Linked DNA regions of Homo sapiens: region 2 is linked to region 1. Evidence: promoter capture Hi-C in 16 types of primary human blood cells and fetal thymus (Javierre and others, 2016). All regions are on one chromosome and are shown on one strand. The core of a region is centred on a gene start or on the middle of the fragment in contact, and the rest is flanking DNA. Distances in the headings are between cores, read along the strand shown.

What was found. The method cuts DNA at HindIII sites, captures the fragments that hold promoters and counts their contacts. A CHiCAGO score of 5 or more calls a contact.
Region 2: a fragment that was not itself captured here is called in contact with the fragment with the promoter of KRT33B in region 1 in 1 of 17 cell types (total CD8 T cells); the score reaches 5.4 in total CD8 T cells.

What each region holds. Positions count from the first base shown.
Region 1 is chr17:41,366,794-41,372,865 of GRCh38, forward strand. It overlaps KRT33B (keratin 33B), which reads right to left and starts at 3,020. Exons shown (of 7, transcript NM_002279.5): 1 at 2,610-3,020; 2 at 1,115-1,197. The coding sequence starts at 2,957. The HindIII fragment of the contact is 2,505 bases long and covers 1,625-4,129 here.
Region 2 is chr17:41,194,840-41,200,911 of GRCh38, forward strand. No RefSeq gene overlaps it. Among named protein-coding and RNA genes, the nearest start is that of KRTAP9-1, 8.0 kb to the left of the region's middle. The HindIII fragment of the contact is 1,378 bases long and covers 1,831-3,208 here.

The DNA of each region.
Region 1 (6,072 bases), core at 1,770-4,269:
TGAGACACACAGAAAAGGTATTGGTGGAATGCCTGTGGATAGTTTAGTCTAACACAAACTAAGTTTGTTCTAAGACTCTCGTTTACAAGTTACTATCAACTAAGCCCTGCTGCTTTTGCCATCTCAAGTGAATCAGTGCCCTTCATAAGCCTGCTCCAGGTTGTCCTGTCATCCTTTCCAGCCTTGCCAAGAAGCAATCTAGTGTTGTGGAAGAAACACTGAATTCAGAGTTAGAGCCAGTATTCTCATTAAATGACTGTAGATAGATACCTTTATCTCTCTGAGGCTTGATTTCCTTAACTGTAAAATGAAGACAAAACTAACACCTTATAGGGTTGGACTGAAGATGATATATGTAAAATTATGTTGTAAAATGTAAGATCCCAGGAAAATGCAAAGGATTCTCATGATTGTAATAATGGTCATACCTAAAAGTATTGATTGATTCTCTGAAAGGCAATGGATTTTGCCTCCTGTTTTTGTGGTTTAATAACTTCTTTTTGGGGGGTTGACAGTGACTAACGTATACAAAGAGACCAATGTGAAAATCACTTTCAAACTTACTCCAGACGTTGGGTTGAAAAGGAGTAAGAATGGATGGTGTCTTACAATCAAACTTAAAGCACAGGGCTGCGCACAGTGGCTCACGCCTGTAATCCCAGCAGTTTGGGAGGCTGAGGCGGGTGGATCACTTGAGGTCAGGAGTTCAAGACCAGCCTGACCAACATGGTAAAACCCGGTCTCCACTAAAAATATAAAAATTAGCTGGGCCTGCTGGCGCATGCCTGTAATCCCAGCTACGAGGAAGGCTGAGGCAGGAAAATCACTTGAATCCGGGAGGCGGAGGTTGCAGTGAGCCAAGATTGCATCACTGCACTCCAGCCTGGATGAGAGAGGGAGACTCCATCTCAAAATAAAAAAATTAAAAAAAAAAACTTAAAACACAGAATCTGAGCACCTATTGAAGAGGCTTTGACATTTAACCTAATCCTAACCCAATGCAAGAATCCTCCCAATAGAAATTTCTGCTTCCACATTCCAGGATAGGGAGCTCATCACTTTGTAATTCAGCCTGTCCGTTACTAGACTGCTCTGATGGTTAGGAAAATCTTACTTGGTTCTGAAGTCATCTGCAGCCAGCTTGGCATTGTCGATCTGCACCACCAGCCTGGCATTCTCAGACTTGCTGCACAGGATCTGGGGATAGGATTAATCATGAAATGGGTTATACTAAGAAATGCCTTGTGCCTTAAAGTGAAATGCTATTTTCTTTCAGCCACATTCCTCCCAAATAGCTTTGAGTCCTTTCAGATTTTCAGCTCTGAGATAAAAGGAGGATTTGATCATAAAACTGATCATTTCAAAACCAGGACAACCAATGTGAATTCATCATGAATTCTATTCTTATCTGCTTCTGGCTTCCTGCAATAATTAGGTTACTGGGTATCCAACCCTTCGGTTGGGTGACCAACCATCCCAGTTAACTTAGGACTGAGGGGTTTCTGGGATGCTAAAATGGGAAAAATCCCAGGCAAGCCAGAACAACTTGGTTATCCAACACATTCCACCTGCTAACTTCTCTCCACTCTCCCCTCATATTGCCCTTGTTCATGCCTTTGCAAAAAGCTTCTTGCTGTACCCAGAATGCCCTCACCCACTAGCAAGACCCCTTGTGTAACCCACATACTTAATCAATAACACTTCTTATGACCTTTGTGTGATCATTTTGTTTCCACATCTATCTCCCCTGTTAGACTGTGAGCTCCTGAAGGAAGGAGACTGTCTTACTCAGTACATTATCCCCCACCCCAGCACTGTGCCTAACACTCTCCAACTCTGGGTAAATAAATGAATGATATTCAAATAGCACAACCCCTTTCTGGCATCTAATTTTCCAGATCTACAGAACAGTGGGCAGTCAATTCCCTCCCAGAATCAAGGGCTTGTACAATTGGATATAAACTCCCACTCATCCTTCAAACCCCACTCAGACATTGCCTCTTCTGGGATCCCTCCCAAACCTACACCAGGTATTCAGTCCCAATTCTCTGTGGACTCTTTACTTATATCTACTTCTCTTCCAGAACAGATGGCCCCATATTGTCATCTGTACACATGGCTGCTCTAGAGGATGGTCCATGTGTCTGTAGATATTGCTGGAGTCAACAGCTCTCTTGTGTTGCCATAAATGCTATATTTTGCTACAGCTTTGAAAGGCTTTAAATATTTGAAGATTTACTTAGGAAATTCTTAGCATAGAAAATAATTCAGGTGCATACTTTTTGAAAATGCGGTAATGCTCTGAAAACAAAACCAGGGTATCATAATCAAACCAAAAAATCAGATATTCTGGTTTGGAGTAAGACGCCATATAAGATTGCTATGACTGATTTTGGTCTAATGCTTCACTCTAACACCAGCCTGCATCCTTCCTTTGTGGCTCTACAACAGATTTTCTAAGACTACTTGATGTCATACCTAAGCCAGTGAATCTATGTCTTTATCATTCTCAGCATTACTGTGAACAGACTTAGATCCATTCACAGTTTAGTATGTCAAATATAGATAAGTAGTTCATTAAGCTGGCAGTGTGGTGCCCACCTCCTCACCTTCTGCTGGAGCTCCTCAATGGTCTTGAAGTAGGACTGGTAGCTGGGGCACAGCAAGGGCTCCTGCTGCTGAGACCGCTCCCGGATGAGGTTCTCCAGCTCCGCGTTGTCCCGCTCCAGCTGACGCACCTTCTCCAGGTAGCTGGCCAGGCGGTCGTTCAGGAACTGCATAGTCTCCTTCTCGCTGCCATTGAAGGAGCCCTCGCAGAACCAGTTGCAGTTGCTCACATTGGCAGGGATGTTGCAGGCCCCGGGCAGGGTGTAGCCGTGGCAGCTGGGGGGCACACAGGGCCGGGAGGAGCAGCTGGTGCGGCAGCTCAGGCTGGGCAGGCAGAAGTTGTAGGGCATGGTGCAGGGAGGCAGTGGAGCTCTGGAAGTCAGTTTCAAAACCTGATTCCTTTTCCCTGGGATAAGCCTTGGTCCTTTCCAGGGCTTTATATTCTGTTAGCAGTGGGTGTGGCAACCATGTCAAGTATTCCTCCTTTTTACCTCCTTTGCTGATTTTTCCATTTGTTATTTAGCCACTTCACCTGAGTCCTATACCTCATTAAATGTTTTACTCTGGCTTCTTGCTAAGTCAGGACTCCTCACAAAACATGCTGATTGGTTAAGTAAGAGCTTCATGGTTTGGCTTCAAAGTGACCAACCTTGCCTGTAGCAGTGCTTATCCATGGGACATTGAGCTAGAGTGACAGCTGGGCCCTGTCCCCAGAGTAGGGGGCACATATGTGCCTCTTTCTCCTAAATGAGGAAAGGCTTGTGTCTCATCCAGTTCATATTCAATTAAGACTCTGTGAGAAAAGCCATGTAAGGAAACCCGTCTAGAAACTAGACTATGTGATAGGGAATCCTGGAAGCTGAAATGAGAAAGGACTTACAAGGCCATTGGTTCAAGGCCCATTTGCAGTTCCATCCAGGCAGATGGAGGCAACTCTACCCTCTTCCTATGGGGCTGCAGGAAGCCACCCACCTCCGTTTCTACTAGTATTCAGTGTTCACAGAACATTAAGAAACCTAAATTTTGGGAGCACCTACTCTGCATGAAGCACTGTGCTCCATGCCTGTGCACAGCGTGACTCTGTCATTGGTGATGGGTCCTGCTTGCTGAGCCTCCACTGTGCACCAGGCACAGTGCCAGGCACCTCATATGCACCAGCTCCTTCAGTCCTCTCAAAATGCTGCAAGGGTTTGTAGATAAGGACCCTAAGCCTCTGAGAGGTCTCCCAAGGTCACAGAGCTCCTACATGATGGAGCCAGGGTTCAAATACAGATCTCTCTAATTCCAATGTCCACACTCTGTCATATTACATGTCTCTCTCTTCCAATCTTTTCAGTACTGAGATGCAATAATGCAAAAAATACAGATTGAGCTCCATTGAGCTCAATCAGTGCTGACAATATCCTAAATTAGAATGGGCCAAAAAATAACAAGCCTGTTTTTTACTTATTAAAGAACCAAAAGTCACTTCTATGCTGAAGGAAGGAAGTTTACTAAGTGAAAATGCCTCATACCCACTAGAAGCTTGAAAAAAAAAAAAAAAGGAAACCCTTGGTTGATCTGAGGGAGAAATACCCAAGCCTAGCTCTCCAAAGGATATGACCCTGAAAATCCACCACTATGTCATGTGCATGAAGTGGCATTTTATGACCATTGGCACATTTTGGCAAGCAGATGCTCTACTCTCATGCATTCCAGATGGAACTATGAAATATGAGGATTTTATGTTTAATCTATCAGTGCTCAAATTCTGAAAGATACTCCTCCAAGTTGTTCCTTTTGGAAGCTACATATTAAGTCTTGCCATACAAGAATTCTTTTCCTACAGGTGACCTGCCATTCCTCAGATCACCCTTCCTTCAAACTTGCCTTCACAGCTTGGGACACATTCTTTTGGTTATCCTCATTGAAGGCCAATCTTCATCTTCTATGGGTGTGTTTATTTTTGGAACCAGCCAGAAGTCATTTGAAACCACACCTAGTGCATAGGGTGAATAACCAAGCTGCATAGCATCTTTAATGGGTCAGAAACAGGTTGTGACTACAAAATAATAATGTGTGTTTTCTTGGGTGACTCTGGAAGTCATTTCCAAGGAGAAGCTTCAAATATGCTTTTATAAAGGACAGCAGCTTTGGGGCAAACATGTGGTCTTCCAGGGTGAATGCATTGAAGGTACTGATATCCTCCCCTACAATCACAATCCACAACTTTCTGCCCCTCCTGCCTGAATCTCTAATTTTTTTTTTTTTTTTTTTTTTTTGGAGACAGAGTCTCACTCTATTGCTCTATTGCCCAGGCTACAGTGCAGTGGTGCAATCTCAGCTCACTGCAACCTCCGCCTCCCAGGTTCAAGCTATTCTCCTGTCTCACCCTCCCTAGTAGCTGGGATTAGAGGCGTGCACCACCTGTAATGTGCCTGGCTAATTTTTGTATTTTTAGTAGAGACAGGGTTTCACTATGTTGGGCAGGCTGGTCTCAATCTCCTGACCTCAGGTGATCCACCCGCCTCAGCCTCCCAAAGTGCTGGGATTACAGGAGTGAGCCACTGCACCCGGCCTGAATCTCTACCTTTAAAATGATTCCACTATCAGTGAGATGTGGCATGGGCATATTGGTTTAAAATCAGTACCAAACCATTAAAGTCCTATTGGATGAGATCAAATAACATAAAGCAAATAGCTGAATTCATTAGCTTTTCTCTAATTACCTTGTGTTCTTCTCTCCTTCTTCTACGTCCCAAGCTTCAAAAGGAAAAATCTGACAATGGCACTTTTTAAAGAAAAGGGAAGGAATAGTGTGTCACAGACTGGTAAATATGTCCACAGGGATCCCTATAACCATTGCTGTAGCTTCTACCTCAGTCACAGTGGAATAATCCAGAGATAAGTATCCTTGTGTCTTTAAAAGTGGAGGTCAGAGTTTAGAAAACACAACTATTCCCACATCTTGAGTAGAAGTAACTATAATTTCTGCACAGCTACTTGGCCATTATGTACTAATAGTTGGAAGAACTTGGGTCTATGGAGAAAAGAGCCAAGTTTCAATTAGCTTCTCACAAAGTCTGGAAGGCAATTGCTTTTTACTTACTCCACTTGCTGTGTACTGTGAATTCTTATCTTTACATGGGTGATGCTATTGTCTCTGTTCAATGGCCCTTCATTAAACATGACAAGTAAGTCAAATCCTAACAAACCGAAAGGTTTTATACATGCCCATGTAATAGCGGCAGATGCTATGGTTGAGGCTTCTGGTCTTAAGATGTGAGCAAATTGCAGTTGAGGTTTAAGGATGCTATTTATTATGGAAGCCCGGGCTATTTCCATAGAAGAGATCACATGCCAACCCACCAGCGATGCTTAACCACGGAGTGGACATAGGATGGGGCTTCTGCTGAGGCCACCTTCCTCATTGTGGGACTTCAAAGGCATTAGGAGGCCTCCCTCCTTCTTCCCAAAGCCATCTTC
Region 2 (6,072 bases), core at 1,270-3,769, 170 kb before region 1:
AAGACATGGAATCAACCTAAATGCTTATCAATGGTAGACTAGATAAAGAAAATGTGGTATATGTATGCCATGGAATACTACACAGGCATAAAAAAAGAATGAGATCATGCCCTTTGCAGCAACATAGATGGAGCTGGAGGCCATTATCCTAAGCAAACTAACACCGGAACAGAAAATTAAATACTGCTTATTATCTCCACTTATAAGTAGGAGCTAAAAATTGAGTAAATATGGACACAAAGATAGGGACAACAGAGATACCTGTGTCTACTTAAGGGTGGAGGGTGGGAGGGGGGTGAGGATTGAAAAACTGCCTGTCAGGTACTATGCTGATTACCTGGGTGACAAAATAATCTGTACACCAAACCCTGCAACATGCAGTTTACCTATATAACAAACCTGCAGCCGGGCGTGGTGGCTCACGCCTGTAATCCCAAAACTTTGGGAGGCCGAGGTGAGTGGATCACCTGAGGTCAGGAGTTCGAGACCAGCCTGACCAACATAGAGAAAGCCTGTCTCTACTGAAAATACAAAATTAGCCGGGTGTGGTGGCGCATGCCTGTAATCCCAGCTGCTTGGGAGGCTGAGGCAGGAGAATGGCTTGAACCCAGGAGGCGGAGGTTGCAGTGAGCTGAGATCGCACCATTGTGCTCCAGCCTGGGCAACAAGATCTAAACTCCATCTGAAAAAAAAAAAAAGTCCTGCACATGTACCCTTGAACTTAAAATAAAAGTGAAAAAAAATAAAGAAATAAAGTCAGTGATGAAGACCTTGGGAAACAGTGAGCATCTTAAAGTCTGCAAAGGCTGGGGAGAAGAAATACGCCTGGTAAGAATGTCATCTGTTCAGTAAGAAGGCAGATGCCAGAGCTTAGAAGAAATTTAAGGTGATTTTTTTGGGACGAAGCACTGGGAGAAAAGATGGCTAGTAAGAGTAGGAACCTCACAGGAATTCCTTTCGGTTCATTCCATTTGCAAATGATCCCAATGAGGAAAAATTGCCAGAGGCCTAGAGTGGAAGGAGCTAATGCAAAAATTATTCTGGCAATGTGAATTCTAAACACTATTGGGATGCAAGCGTTGGCTGGACAATCATTAGAACATTGTGCCAAGGATTCGCAGTGTCTGGTAATTGGTTATTATTATTGGACTTCAGAGGTCACTTCAGTTCTTGAGATACTTCAAAAGTTCCCAAATGTTTTTGTTGGATTCAAAATTGACCATTCGCTGATTTTTGAAGTCCATAAGCAACAAAATATGTAAAATATGTAAAATTTAAAAAGAAACACAAAGTGCCATACATACTTATTAGGCATCCTTTGGAGGAAACAGGAAGGCTGTCTTCCAGGGTAGTAAATACTACCTTGAAAAACGTACCAGTATCTGGCCTTCAGCCTTGCACACTCCAGAAACTGAAATTATTTACATTCTAAGAGTGAAACCACCTCTGGGAGCAGGCTCACTTTCACCAAGCCCATAACATTAGTACCAGTTGAAGAATCTACATGAGAAATAACTTAAAGAGAAGATGACATTTTCATGGGTCTTTTTGACCAGGATATTTTCTTCCTATAGATATACCTGCATGAAAAGTGAAATTATAACCAAAGGTTATTTTCTTTTTTATAATTAAACTTTTTGAGATAATTGTAGATTCACATGCAGTTGCAAGAAATAATACAAAGAAACCTCTGTACTCTTTACCAAGTTTCCCCCCAATGATAACTTCTTGCAAAACTACAGTACGGTATCACAAGTCCAATGGTGACATTGATACCTTCAAGACACAGAGTAGCTCCATCAGCACAAGGATCCCTTGTATTGCCCTAAAAGCTTATTTTCTCAGCAAATATTTAGAACATTCTAATATTCTAGAAGTTCTAATAATACGGAATGGCATCTAATGCATTTGTTCTAAAACAGATTTTGCCAGGCACTCTGGAAAATTCAAGTGCCTTGGGTGGCTCTCCCTCCCCCATGCAATGTGTCGTAACCAGCACTTCTGAATTTGTCTCAGACTCTCTCTTTTCTCTAAGCTGCCATGGCTCACCAAACCTCCACCCCCATTTATAAGTCCCAGGTTCTTTTTAAAACCATCTTCAATCAACTTACAGTAATTTCTGCAGGTCTTGAAGCAGCCCCTCCCATGTTCCCCAACTTCTGATACAACCTCATTTATGCCTTTGCCTCATAAAGACCTACAAAACATTTTTAATTTTGTTTACTTTTGCCATCATATTTATGGATCATTTATGAAGTTTCAGGCCATAGCATACAAATTATATTTTAGGCAACTCCGGATTTTGTCCACTTTCTCTTTCTTCCAAATAAAAATATAAGCTGCAGCCATGCAGGTCTGTCTTCAGAAACTGGCATGGGCTCTTTGTTATCATTAGACAGTAACATGACATCATACACCTGTTTGTGTGATTCCCCCATCACACTCCTTCCCCTGGGATCCCTCAGTGAGTTCTGATGGTTTATGCACATCCTACTGCAATTTTTCCTATGACTGCCATTAAACATAAAAGACAATTCCACACTTCAGTCCTCTATTAAAATATAATATTATTATGGACAAGACCAAGTAATGCTTTCACGAAATGGTTTTTCATTTTCTTTAGCTCTGTCCAGTGTACAATGTATGTAACAAAACTTCCCTATTTTTCCACTGGAGAACCTCCATTCAGAATTCCCCCTAGATGGCAGATGTTGGCATGATTTTACTCCAGTATGTGTTTTAAAAAGAAAAGGAATGACACTCCCTAATTCCAATCCCAGCTATAACATTGATAGTTTAAGAAGTGTGAGAGAGCCCCCAGAACTGCCAATATTGGAAGTCCTATCAACATCAGATTGACTCACTGGAGAATTGTGAGGTTTGTTATGTTCAGAGTTTGCTCATGTGTAAAATGTGGAAAAATGGAAAAAGAATCAGAGGAACATGTATAATGATTCCCACTGAGGTTAACAAGTGTAGATTTGTTTCTAAGATATTAAGAACTTCATGAAATTATAGAAATTTTGAAGACTGATAATACTGATATTATATGAAATTATAGAAATTTTGAAGACTGATAACACTGTATTATGTAAGTTGTTCTGAGAGATTCCCACGGTATTTGTATGATGTTTCAATACCTTCTTTCAGCTTAGATAAGAATATTGGAATCTTCTGAAAATCGATATCAGAATCTACCCAACCTAAAAGCTTTCTACTGTACCTGTCTAATTAATATAAAAGCTTGAGAGTACTTGATATAAGTATAAATAAATGATATAAAGGCTTGAGAGGATGTTGATAGAACTTCTAGGGATTGGATTTAGGGAGTGTCCTTCCTTTTCTTTTTAAAACACATACTGGAGTAAAATCATGCCAACATCTGAAGTCCCCTCAGAATGGAGTACAGATATTATGAATCCAGATTCACCAAGAAGTTAGTTTTTTTTTTTTTAATTTAAAAAGCTGCTCATGCTGGGAATGTAAACTGGTACAACCACTGTGGAAAATAGTGTGGAGATTCCTTAAAGAACTAAAAGTAGAACTACCATTTGATCCAGCAATCCCAAAACTGGATATCTACCCAGAGGAAAAGAAGTCATTATACGAAAAAGATACTTGCACGTGCATGTTTATAACAGCACAATTTGCAATTGCAAAAAATATGAAACCAGCCCAAATGCCCATCAATCAATGAGTGGAAAAAGAAATGGTTGTATATATGATGGAATACTACTCAGCCATAGAAAGGAATGAATTAATGACACAGCAATCTGGATGGAATTGGAGACTATTATTCTAAGAGAAGTAATTCAGGAATGGAAAACCGAACCTGAAATCTTGTAAGTGGGAGCTAGCTATGAGGATGCAAAGGCATAAGAATGATACAATGGACTTTGGGGACTCAGGGGAAAAGATGGAAGGGGTGATGGATAAAAGACTACAAATTGGGTTCAGCATACACTACTCGGGTGATGGGTGCACCAGAATCTCACAAATCACCACTAAAGAACATACTCATGTAACCAAATACCACCTGTTCCCCAAAAACTTATGGAAGTAAATTTTTTTTTAAAAAAAAAGCTGCTCAGCTCTGTCTGATGCATGATCTCGTGGTAACAGTGGAAGTGGTCAGATGTTTGTCCGATCTCCAAAACCCATGTTCTTCTACCTTTTAAAGATAAAATGCTTCTTAAAACTGTTTCATCGGGGCATGGTGGCTCACGCCTGTAATCCCAGCACTTTGGGAGGCTGAGGCAGGTGGACTGCCTGAGGTCAGGAGTTCGAGACCAGCCTGGCCAACATGATGAAATCCCATCTCTACTAAAAATAGAAAAAAATTAGCTGCGCGTAGTGGCGTGTGCCTGTAATCCCAACTACCTGGGAGGCTGAGACATGGGAATTCCTTGAACCAGGAAGATGGAGGTTGTAGTGAGCTGAGATCGCACCACTGCACTCCAGCCTGGGCAACAGTGAGACTCCGTCAAAAAAAAAAAAAAAACACCACTAACACACACACAAAAACCTGTTTCTTCCTTTGTTAAATTAAATTTCTAATTAAAATTTTTATTTTTAAAGAATAGAGATTGGCATGCCATTGTAAGATGTGATACAAGAGATCCATGTACTCTTTGCCCAGTTTCCCCAAAAAATAACATCCTCCAAAACTATAGAAAAACATCACCAACAGCATATGATATTGATATTGACATAGCCAATGTACAACACATTTCTGTCACTGCAATGATCTCTTTTGATTGTTCTTTTATAGCCACTCTCACCTGCCTCCCACACCCACTCCTTTCTTTATACCTGGCAACCACCAATCTGTTCTTCATTTGTATAATTCTGTCATTTCAAGGATGTTGTATAAAAAGAATCATACAGTGCTTAACATTTTGAGACTGGTTTTTTCAACACAGCATAATTCCGTGAAAATTTAAACAGATTGTTGAACAGTTTTTCCTTTTTGTCACTAAGAATTACCCTCTGGTATGTATGTACCACAGTTTGTTTGATCATGTGTTGAAGGACATCTGGGTCGCTTCCAGTTCAAAGCAGCCATAAACATTCATGTACAAACATTTGTGTGAACAAGTACAATTACTGAGTTGTATGGTAGTTACATGTTTAATTTTTTTTTTTTTTTTTTTTTTTTACAGAGTCTTGCTCTGTCACCGAGGCTGGAGTGCAGTGGCACTGTCTCGGCTCACTGCAACCTCCGCCTCCTGGGTTCTAACGATTCTCCTGCCTCAGCCTCCCGAGTTGCTGGGATTACAGACATGCGCCACCACGCCCGCTAACTTTTTGTATTTTTAGTAGAGACAGGGATTTACCATGTTGGCCAAGCTGGTCTCAAACTCCTGACCTCAGGCAATCCATCCGCCTCAGCCTCCCAAAGTGCTGGGATTACAGGCATGAGCCACTGTGCCCGGCCAGCATGTTTAATTTTTAAGCAACAGCATCAACTGTTTGCAGAGTGTCTGTACCATTTTACATGTATGACTGATTCTGTTTCTTTGAACACTCACCAGCATTTATTTTAGCCATTTTGATAGGTGTGCTAACTTTTCGTGGTTTTAGTTTGCATTTCCCTAATGGCTAATGATGTTGAACATCTTTTCACATGCTTATTTGTCATCTGTATATCTTTTTCCATGAAATATTTCTTCATGTCTTTTGCCCATGCTGTACTTTTAGTGTTTGCTTTCTAATTGTTCAGTTTTTAAAGTTCTTTATACATTCTAGGTACTACTCCTTTGTCAAATATGTGATTTGCAAATATATATCATGTATAGTTCACAGCTTGTCTTTTTCTCCTCTGTTCTTTTGCAGAACATAATTTTTTTAATCAATTTATTAATTTCTCTTTAATGGATCATGTTTTTGGTGCTACCTAAGAACTCTTTGGTCTTACATGCTAAAGATTTTCTTCCATTTTTTTCTAAAAGTTTTATAGTTTTATATTTTATATTTAAGTTTGTAATTTATTTTTTTGATTCTTTTTTGTTTGTTTTGTTTTGTTTTCTTTCTTTTTTTTATTATACTTTAAGTTTTAGGGTACATGTGCAC